Linked DNA regions of Homo sapiens: regions 2 and 3 are each linked to region 1. Evidence: promoter capture Hi-C in human tissues and cell types (Jung and others, 2019). All regions are on one chromosome and are shown on one strand. Each heading gives the region's core, a stretch centred on a gene start or on the middle of the fragment in contact. The rest is flanking DNA. Distances are from core to core; before and after follow the strand shown.

What was found. Contacts are between HindIII fragments. The study calls those that stand out against the background at their distance.
Region 2: a fragment that was not itself captured here is called in contact with the fragment with the promoter of HRAS in region 1 in 1 of the 25 tissues and cell types used here (lymphoblastoid cells).
Region 3: the fragment with the promoter of SIRT3 here is called in contact with the fragment with the promoter of HRAS in region 1 in 1 of the 25 tissues and cell types used here (dorsolateral prefrontal cortex).

What each region holds. Positions count from the first base shown.
Region 1 is chr11:534,081-536,825 of GRCh38, forward strand. HRAS (HRas proto-oncogene, GTPase) reads right to left here and starts at 1,496. Exons shown (of 6, transcript NM_005343.4): 1 at 1,336-1,496; 2 at 132-295. The coding sequence starts at 242. It also overlaps a transcript of LRRC56 not described here. RefSeq lists enhancers at 1-569, 570-1,426, 1,448-2,155 and a silencer at 433-592. The HindIII fragment of the contact is 24,710 bases long and covers 1-2,745 here.
Region 2 is chr11:213,295-216,914 of GRCh38, forward strand. RIC8A (RIC8 guanine nucleotide exchange factor A) reads left to right here. Exons shown (of 10, transcript NM_001286134.2): 9 at 5-124; 10 at 936-1,819. The coding sequence ends at 1,056. It overlaps SIRT3 (sirtuin 3), which reads right to left. Exons shown (of 7, transcript NM_012239.6): 7 at 1,736-3,424. The coding sequence ends at 3,404. Among named protein-coding and RNA genes, the nearest start is that of MIR6743, 5.8 kb to the left of the region's middle. The HindIII fragment of the contact is 6,100 bases long and covers 1-3,620 here.
Region 3 is chr11:234,519-238,138 of GRCh38, forward strand. It overlaps SIRT3 (sirtuin 3), which reads right to left and starts at 1,824. Exons shown (of 7, transcript NM_012239.6): 1 at 1,530-1,824. The coding sequence starts at 1,810. PSMD13 (proteasome 26S subunit, non-ATPase 13) reads left to right here and starts at 2,458. Exons shown (of 13, transcript NM_002817.4): 1 at 2,458-2,626. The coding sequence starts at 2,532. RefSeq lists a silencer at 1,890-1,969 and enhancers at 2,120-2,309, 2,470-2,709. The HindIII fragment of the contact is 7,029 bases long and covers 1-3,556 here.

The DNA of each region.
Region 1 (2,745 bases), core at 246-2,745:
CTCTAGAGGAAGCAGGAGACAGGGCCACAGCACCATGCAGGGGACCAGGGGCTGCAGCCAGCCCTATCCTGGCTGTGTCCTGGGCTCGCCCGCAGCAGCTGCTGGCACCTGGACGGCGGCGCCAGGCTCACCTCTATAGTGGGGTCGTATTCGTCCACAAAATGGTTCTGGATCAGCTGGATGGTCAGCGCACTCTTGCCCACACCGCCGGCGCCCACCACCACCAGCTTATATTCCGTCATCGCTCCTCAGGGGCCTGCGGCCCGGGGTCCTCCTACAGGGTCTCCTGCCCCACCTGCCAAGGAGGGCCCTGCTCAGCCAGGCCCAGGCCCAGCCCCAGGCCCCACAGGGCAGCTGCTGGCAGGGCCATCTGAAGGGCAAACCCACAGCGGTCCCTGGGCCCCAACGCCAGGCAGCAAGGACTGCAGCGTGCCTACCTGTGCAGCTGCAACCCAGCGTGCGGGAGGGCTGTCGCCTCGCCCCCACTTGCTCTTAATGACCCAGTGATGGGAAAAGGGACCCAGCCCTCAAAGGCAGGGCTGACAGCTGAGCGCTCTCAACCACGCACCCAAATTAGAAGCTGCTGGGTCGGCAGAAAGGCTAAAGGGAGGCGCCCGAGGGCTGAGGTTACCGTCCTCCAGAACAGGTCTGGCCACGGCGGAGCGCGCCACGGCGTGCCCGGGCAGGCTAGTGCCAGCCTGCAGGCCCCGCGGCGCTGGTGCCTCCGACAAGTATTTGCTGAGCGCCTACTGCGTACTAGGCGCCGCCGAGGGGAGGGCAGACCCGGGCAGCGCCCCGCACCCCCGGCGGGGAACCGGGGGCATCTTTCAGCCACAGAAAGCTGGAGAAGACAGAGGAGCTCCTGGGAAGCAGGGACTGAGCGACAGGAAGGGGCCGAGAAGCGGCGCGGGAGACCCGGAGAGGGAAAAGGCACTGGGGCTGAGGCCCCCGGCCTGGTCCGCGACCTGTGATGCTGAATCGGGGGTGCCCGGGCGTGCCGTGGCCGCGGCCGCCTCCTCCCAGACGCCCCCGGGTGTGAGGGCGCCGGGCCCGAGGCTCCCGGGTACGCCGGCGTGGGGACCGTGCCCAGCGCGAGGCCACGGGTGGGGCCCGGATTCCCGCAGGCCCCAGGGAGGAAGGGGCCCCCGCCCGCCGCAGCCCCCGACGCCCGCTCACCTGTGCCCGCGGGCCCCGCCCGGCCCCACCCACCCGCCGCCGCCGCCGCCGCCGCCGCTTACGCCCGCCGGCCCCGCGCCCCCGGCCCGCGCCGCGCGTATTGCTGCCGCCTGGGGGCGAGGAGGGCGCGCGGCCCGGCCGATCCCTGCCCGCACTCACCGTTCACAGGCGCGACTGCCCCCGGGGCCAGGGCCGGGGCCGAGGCCGGGGCGGGGCGGGGGCGGGGGCGCGCGGTTCGCCCCGCGCATGGGCTCCGTCCGCGGCGGGTGCGGCTCGGGTTGCGGGCGCAGGGCACGGGCGGCGGAGACTCGGGCGGGCCTGCGCACGCCCCGCCCCGCGCCCGTCCGTCTGCCAGGCGCGGCCTACCATTGGCTGCGCGCCATCGGGCCCCGCCCCACCCCGGTTGGCTGAGCGGCCCGTCTGTCAGGAGCCGCGGTCGGGCGGGGCTTCCGGGAGCAACGCGGGAGGCGGAGCCAGTAGGGCCGCGGCCTCTCGGGGTTGGGCTTGGCTGGAGACCGGAGCCGAGCTCGGGGTTGCTCGAGGAAGGCCAGGGAGCCGGTGTCTGGGGGCCCGGGGCGGCATCTCCGAGCAGGGCCCCGGGCTCTCCCGGGAACAGGCCGGCGAGAGAACCCGACTCAGCGGTGCCGGTGCACCAGAGGCCCTCCCTGCGCCGGCAGCGCGGCGCCGCCCACCGCGGAGGTCCCGGGGCTACGGGCTGGGGAAAGGCTGGGATCCGCCGGGACCAAGGCGGGATGCTCGGAGCTGGGGGCCCCCGGGTGGCCGCGGGGTCCGGTTGCCCGGCTGCCCTTCCGCGCAGGTGGAGCGGCCGCGCACCCCACCTACCACCACGCACCCCAGCTCCCCTACTCCCACCGCAACCCACCCCGAGGACGCTTGCAGCCCCGGTGGGGTTCCGGGCGGCGGGCGCAGCCGTGTGCCCTGGGGCCAGGCGTGAGAACGCCCCCTCCACCACTCTCCTCTTTCTCGGGCCTGCGTGGCAGGCGACCCTGCCCGCCCAGTCCCCCCAAACTTGAGGTTCCAACGCTGCAGAAGCTCAGCGTGGTCCAGTTAAACCGTACCCACAAGTTGCCACAGGGGAGCGAAGTGCCCAGGGCTCACCCCAAGCACATAGACGCACATCCTAGCTCTTTCAAACCCAAAAAGACATGTTTTTAACATTTTTTAAAATTGCAAAGGAATCAGAAATACATCCTCATTAAAAAACAAAAAGGGCCGGGCGCGGTGGCTCACGCCTATAATCCCAGCACTTCGGGAGGCCTAAGCGGGTGGATTACTTGAGGTCAGGAGTTCAAGACCAGCCTGGCCAACATGATGAAACCCTGTCTCTACTAAAAACACAAAAAATTAGTCGGCTGCAGTGGCGCGCGCCTGTAGTCCCAGCTACTCGGGAGGCTGAGGCAGGAGAATCGCTGGAACCCGGGAGGCGGATGTTGCGGTGAGCCGAAATCGCGCCACTGCACTGGGCAACAGAGCGCTACTTCGTCTCAAAACAAAAAAGGCGTTTTACAGTCAGGCAAACCCTGCCTCTGCCCAGTCCAGCGCCCGCCT
Region 2 (3,620 bases), core at 413-2,912, 320 kb before region 1:
ACAGCATAAACCCTGTGACCGGGAGGGTGGAGGAGAAGCCGCCTAACCCTATGGAGGGCATGACAGAGGAGCAGAAGGAGCACGAGGCCATGAAGCTGGTGACCATGTTTGACAAGCTCTCCAGGTGTGTGGCATGAGGAGGAGGGGCCTGCAGCTGGGAGAAGGGAGAGCTGACCCACATCCTGTCTTGTGAGCCCCAGGAGGTAGGATCAGAGGAGAGCTTAGGATCCTGGTATTAGGTTGCATTGCTCACGTTTGAAATCACTTGCCCTGGAGGAAATCCCCCAGGGGATGGGTATATTGAGATCAGTATTGTGCCCCTTTTACAGATGATAACTGAGGCCCAGAGAAATTAAGAGACTGTCTAAGGCCGGGCGTGGTAGCTCACGCCTATAATCCCAGCACTTTGGGAGACTGAGGCAGGTAGATCACAAGGTCAGGAGATCGAGACCATCCTGGCCAACATGGTGAAACCCCATCTCTGCTAAAATACAAAAAAAAAGTTAGCTGGGCGTGGTGGTGGGCGCCTGTAGTCCCAGCTGCTCGGGAGGTTGAGGCAGGGGAATCACTTGAACCCAGGAGGCAGAGCTTGCAGTGAGCTGACATTGTGCCACCGCACTCCAGCCTGGCAACAGAGTGAGACTTCGTCTCAAAAAAAAAAAAGAGACTAATGTCGCCAGATTTATTGGAGATGGCCCAGTGTCCAAATTAAGAGCCTGCTTAAGGCCAATTTAGATGTTTAAAATAGGAAACTGCTTAAAGCCAGGAGGCAGCAGTTAGGGTTTGGGCCCAGTTAACAGAAGGTCCAACCAGGCTTCCCCAGTAAATGGGAGCAGCCTACTTGGTAGAGAGGAAGGTAGCAGCCACGGGTGAGTAGGACCCCTGCCTGGCCAACTGGGCCCCTTCCCCAGCCCCACTGCACCTTTCCCCAACAGGAACAGAGTCATCCAGCCAATGGGGATGAGTCCCCGGGGTCATCTTACGTCCCTGCAGGATGCCATGTGCGAGACTATGGAGCAGCAGCTCTCCTCGGACCCTGACTCGGACCCTGACTGAGGATGGCAGCTCTTCTGCTCCCCCATCAGGACTGGTGCTGCTTCCAGAGACTTCCTTGGGGTTGCAACCTGGGGAAGCCACATCCCACTGGATCCACACCCGCCCCCACTTCTCCATCTTAGAAACCCCTTCTCTTGACTCCCGTTCTGTTCATGATTTGCCTCTGGTCCAGTTTCTCATCTCTGGACTGCAACGGTCTTCTTGTGCTAGAACTCAGGCTCAGCCTCGAATTCCACAGACGAAGTACTTTCTTTTGTCTGCGCCAAGAGGAATGTGTTCAGAAGCTGCTGCCTGAGGGCAGGGCCTACCTGGGCACACAGAAGAGCATATGGGAGGGCAGGGGTTTGGGTGTGGGTGCACACAAAGCAAGCACCATCTGGGATTGGCACACTGGCAGAGCCAGTGTGTTGGGGTATGTGCTGCACTTCCCAGGGAGAAAACCTGTCAGAACTTTCCATACGAGTATATCAGAACACACCCTTCCAAGGTATGTATGCTCTGTTGTTCCTGTCCTGTCTTCACTGAGCGCAGGGCTGGAGGCCTCTTAGACATTCTCCTTGGTCCTCGTTCAGCTGCCCACTGTAGTATCCACAGTGCCCGAGTTCTCGCTGGTTTTGGCAATTAAACCTCCTTCCTACTGGTTTAGACTACACTTACAACAAGGAAAATGCCCCTCGTGTGACCATAGATTGAGATTTATACCACATACCACACATAGCCACAGAAACATCATCTTGAAATAAAGAAGAGTTTTGGACAAAAATGTATGTGTAAATTATCAAATAAAGGGGCCAGGCACAGTGGCTCATGCCTGTAATCCCAGCACTTTGGGAGGCCGAGGTGGGTGGATCACTTGAAGCCAGGAGTTCGAGACCAGCCTGGCCAACATAGCAAAACCTTGTCTCTATTACAAATATGCCCATGTGCTAGGTGTGGTGGGACACACCTGTAATCCCAGCTACCCAGGAGAATCGCTTAAACCCGGGAGGCGGAAGTTGCAGTGAGCTGAGATCATAACACCGCACTCCACCCTGAGTGACAGGGCAAGACTCAAAAAATAAAAAAGGAACATTAACTAGGGTTAGAAACTAACTTCATTCTTTTTAGAATTCAACAGTTTTCCTAGGTCACCAATTCCACCTTTTGTTCTTATTAAGGCGCAAAGTCACAGGACCCCCTTCCTGGGAGTCACTGTCATTAAATCTATTGCCGTCAGCTCAGCCCAGGGTAGGCAAGGTTCAAGAATGGGAAGTGCTTTTGTCTGGGGAAACACGCAGGTAATGTGATGCTAGGAAGGAGGATGTGCAGGTGGGTGAGAGCCCAGGAGGGAGCAGCTGGTGCCTGACAGGGTGAGCCATCAGGGCTGGGCCTGGGTACAGCCCCAGGAGAAGGAGCCTGTGCAGAAGTAGCAGTTCAGTGGATTCCACCTCCTATGTCACAATCCAGCAGGTGGCCAGGACTCAGCCTGGGTTTTAAGTGAGTAATGCCTTCCCTGTCTCAGAGATTAGCTCTAACAGTGTCACTAGAGGAAGCCCTGGCGAGGGTGGGGGGGCGTAGTGTGGGGACAAGGAGGCCAGATAGAAAGTGCTGGAATGTTCTGGAACAGATCTGTTTCTGGAGGAGAGGCTGAGTATGGAGAGTCAACAGAATGTGACCACCTTCAGAGGGAGGAGCTGGGCCGTCTCCAATAAATCCAGGGACAAATGCCTTCAGTCCTCAGACTGTTCCAATAGAGGGGACGCCACGTATCCCAGGGTTCCCTTTCCAACTCATGTCAACACCTGCAGTCCCTTTGAGGAGACTAAATGTATTTCATGCTGGAAAGAACAGATTTTCTCTCATTAAAAATAGCCCCACTAAAGGAGACCAACATGCTAGAAGTGCGGCACCAGGGCCTCAAGACTACACTTCGGAACATGAAGAGGGCTGGGGACCGCTCGGCCCAAGTCTGGATCTTGTAACCAACAGATGCCGAGCTTGCCGTTCAACTAGGCACAGAAAGCAGACTCGGTCTGGGATTCCAGTTGGTCTGATTCAGTTCAAGAGGGTCACAGTCAGAAGAAAGCTTTTTCCATTAGGAGCTTCAGCAGAGTGAAGAGTTCAACACAGCAAACAGGCAGGCAGCTCCTTTGTATATGTGACGGGGTGGCCCTGACTGTAAACACAGCCCTACCAGTCACTGCAGCTCATGGCCTGAGAAGACATTCCAGTGGCAGCCTCGGGTGTCCACTCAGTTCACATATTCTGGTTTCACCTGCCCAAGCTGTCTTCAGGCATGAGGTCTTGTCAGAATTGGGATGTGGATGTCTCCTATGTTACCATTTATTGTGTGGGGGCAGCCATCATCCTATTTGTCTGGTCCATCAAGCTGGAATACAGAAGACAGAGGGTATCAGCTATCTGTTTACACACCCAGGCAGGCCAGCAGATCTCTGTTCAAACAGCTCTAGCTGCAGACATGCAAAATATTTCACAAAACAAGCTGCTTTCTGCAAATACTGCTGCTGCTGTGCTGGGCTAAGAGGATCCCAGCAGGCCTGGGCAGAACAGGGTGGCTAAATGGA
Region 3 (3,620 bases), core at 574-3,073, 300 kb before region 1:
ATTCTCCTGCCTCAGCCTCCCGAGTAGCTGGGACTACAGGCACCCGCCACCACGCCTGGCTAATTTCCTTGTATTTTTAGTAAAGACGGGGTTTCACTGTGTTAGCCAGGATGGTCTCGATCTCCTGACCTCGTGATCCGCCCGTCTCGGCCTTCCAAAGTGCTGGAATTACAGGCGTGAGCCACCGCGCCCGGCCGCAAGGATTTGTTTTAACAGTTTTGCAGAGTATCACAGATATTAGAATGCGCTCCACGTGTTTGTAGGTCCTGGTCCCTGCTCCATCCATAGCACCTAGAACAGAGTCTGGCACAGAATAAGAGCTCAGTCAGGGCTTCTTGGATGAACGACTGACTCTTCGGGATCTTTGTTTTTTTTTGAGACGGAGTTTTTGCTCTTTCGCCCGGGCTGGAGTGCAATGGTGCCATCTCGGCTCACTGCAACCTCTGCCTTCCGGGTTCAAGTGATTCTCCTGCCTCCGCCTCCTGAGTAGCTAGGATTACAGGCGCCCGCCACCACGCCCGGCTAATTTTTGTAATTTCAGTAGAAATGGGGTTTCACCATGTTGGCCCAGCTGGTCTCGAACTCCTGACCTCGTTATCCACCCGTCTCATCCTCCCAAAGTGCTGGGATTACAGGCGTGAGCTACCGCGCCCGGCCAACTCTTCAGGATCTATTAAACTTTTTTCTTTTTTTTTTCCCACAGGTAGATAAGAGTCTTGCTCTGTCACCCAGGCTGGAGTGCAGTGGCTCAATCATAGCTCACTGCAGCCTTGAACTCCTGGACTCAAGGGATCCTCTTGCCTTAGTCTCAGGAGTAACTGGGACAACAGGCTTGCGCCACCATGCCCGGCTAATTTTTAAATTTTTGGTAGAGATGGGGGTCTCGTTATGTTGCCCAGGCTGCTCTTGAACTCCTGGCCTCGAGCGATCCCCGTCTCAGCCTCCGAAAGTGCTGGTATTACAAGTGTGAGCTACCACTTCGAGACTCACTTTTCACCAACATTTTCAGCAGTTGTGTCAGACAGCAAGTCAATGTGCCATTATTTACTTAAATATTCATCCATTATAGGGCATCTGATACCTAACAACCATGGACCTTAAGATTTTTTCCTATGTAGCCTCAGTTCTTAGATGCAATTACTATGGAGACGGGTACGATCACATGCCAGTGGGAGTATTAACCGCACAACATTTATGAGGGATCATTAAAGCGTTAAATGCATATACTTTTGGACCTAGCAATCCCAGTACTAGGAATTTATGCAAACAGTGAGGTGCCAACAAGGTTATTCACCACAGCATGATGCACAATAACTAAAGGTTAGAACGTATTTCAATGAGGGAATGGTGAAATAAACGACAAAACCCCCATAAGTGACGTCCACAGATCAGCATAAAGACGGAGGCCCCGGTGTTGGAACGCACGTAAACTCCCAGACATGCCGCAAAGGAAACACGGCAAGGTGAGAAAGAGTGGGCGAGGTGTCGACAACGAACACGCAAGAAGTGCTTGTCCTTGCCCAAAATACCTCGAAAAGAAGAAACTGGGAGCTGCTGCCCTCGGCTGCCTCCGGAATGCCCTGGGCACCTCGGGTCTGGGAGGCCTCTGCAAGGGGCGCGCCGGGTCCAAGGGCTCACCGCGGGCCCCATGGCTGCCTCTCAGCCCCGCACTCACATCGTCCCTGCCGCCAAGCACCAGCCGACAGCCGCAGGCCTGAAACGGCCCCACGCCTCCCCCGGCCTCGACCCGTTCAACTACCCGGCCCCACAGCCGGAGGGCTGCCGCGGCGCGCCAACCCCAGAACGCCATGTTCCGCGCAGTCCAAGGAGTCCTCCGGACTCGCCCCGCCCCCGGCGCCCCGGCCCCGCCTCCGCCTCCCACCCCCGCCCCCGGCGCCCCAGCCCCGCCTCCGCCTACCGCCCCCGCCCCCGGCGCCCCGGTCCCGCCTCCGCGCCCCGCCCCCGCCTCCTTGCCGACGCCTCCGGCGCGCCCAGGTAGACGTAGAGGCGAGTAGAGGAAGTTCCCTAGTCTGGTGTCTCATCTCTCGCCCCGGAGGTCAAACCTGGAGCCAGCATTTCTGTACCCTGCGCTCACACCTTTTTCAACCCGGATGGCGGTGATAGTTAATACTTTCTGAGCGCTTTTACTATGGTCAGGCATTATATTTACACCTAATCCTCGCAAAACACTACTGGGAAGATCCTCATTTGACAGGAGCAATTCCGGGTCACAAAGGCTGACACCACAAAGCTAGTCCGTAGCGGGTTCGACCACAGGCGCCCACACTCTTTGACGCCTCAATGGCACAGCCAAGTGCGCGGGAAGTGGGCTGCAAACGCCGGAGAGTTTTGTCCGGAGCGCAGAGACGCGCTGTAACCGAGCAACCAGCGGGGCCCGCCCCCGGCCTGCTACGGCGCTCCCAGCCTGCCCCGCGCCGCTCGGCGCCGGAAGTGAGTGAGCATTTCCGGCAGCCATCCCCGCGGTGCTGACATCCCGGTTGTTCTTCTGTGCCGGGGGTCTTCCTGCTGTCATGAAGGACGTACCGGGCTTCCTACAGCAGAGCCAGAACTCCGGGCCCGGGCAGCCCGCTGTGTGGCACCGTCTGGAGGAGCTCTACACGAAGAAGTGAGCGCCGAGCAGACGGGCCCTGGGCCCCGGCGATAGAGGGAGACGGAGGGGGCAGGCGGGCGGAGGAGCGGACCCTTGATGGGCTGAGGGCGCCCAGACCCAAGTTGGGGGGAAACGGGGACGTGTAGCGACCGGCTGTGCCGGCAAGGTTTGCTGAGGAACCTTGAGTGGCAGGGTCGAGGAATAAGAGGGATGACAGACCACGAGGGCCAAGAGCTGTAGCCAGGATGTTTCGGTCTGAGATTCACTGCTTCCTTAACGGGGGACTGAGACTGAGGCTTCTGAACTCCTACCTCGGGTCTTACTAAAACGGTTCAGGAGTAGCCTTTGATTTTAGCTCTTGATTCCATCTAACAAGCAAACACACTTTCAGGGCCACCACCCACTTTGGGAAACATGTTGGTGATTCGTGCTTAGCCTTGTCATAGTGTAACTGTATCTACAGTTATCTTTCTCATGGTCTGGAGTTGATAAACCAGAGGCTAGTACAGCTTTGCTGTTTTCCCTATTCATTCTGCAGCTGGTTGCACGGGGTGCAACCACTTCCGCCGTCCCATTGTCTTTACCTTCCATTGTATTTCTCATGGGCTTTCTGCCCCTAGAAAGATCTTAAAGTTTAGGTTTGTTTAGAAACAGGATGAATTGCAGAGCAATTAAATTCTTGCTAAGCACTAACCTCCTTTTAATATGAGTAGAATAAATTGCTGGCATTGGGCTGGAGCTATTCCATAGAAAATACATCTCCTGTAGTAACCTCCCTGTTAACCCTAGCATTTAATATAATACCTTTCACATAGATGTTCCATACATGTTTTGATGATGTTTAGCATTCAGCAGCCTTCTGCTATTAGCAGTTTTTGAGAGCAAATTAATGTTTGGCAAATAATGGTTTGTGTTGGATAGCACTTGGTAATTTTCAAAGCATTTTATCTGCGTTATTAAATATTAGCCTTTGGGTTTTGGATGAAGCGCTATGTCACTGTCCCTGAGG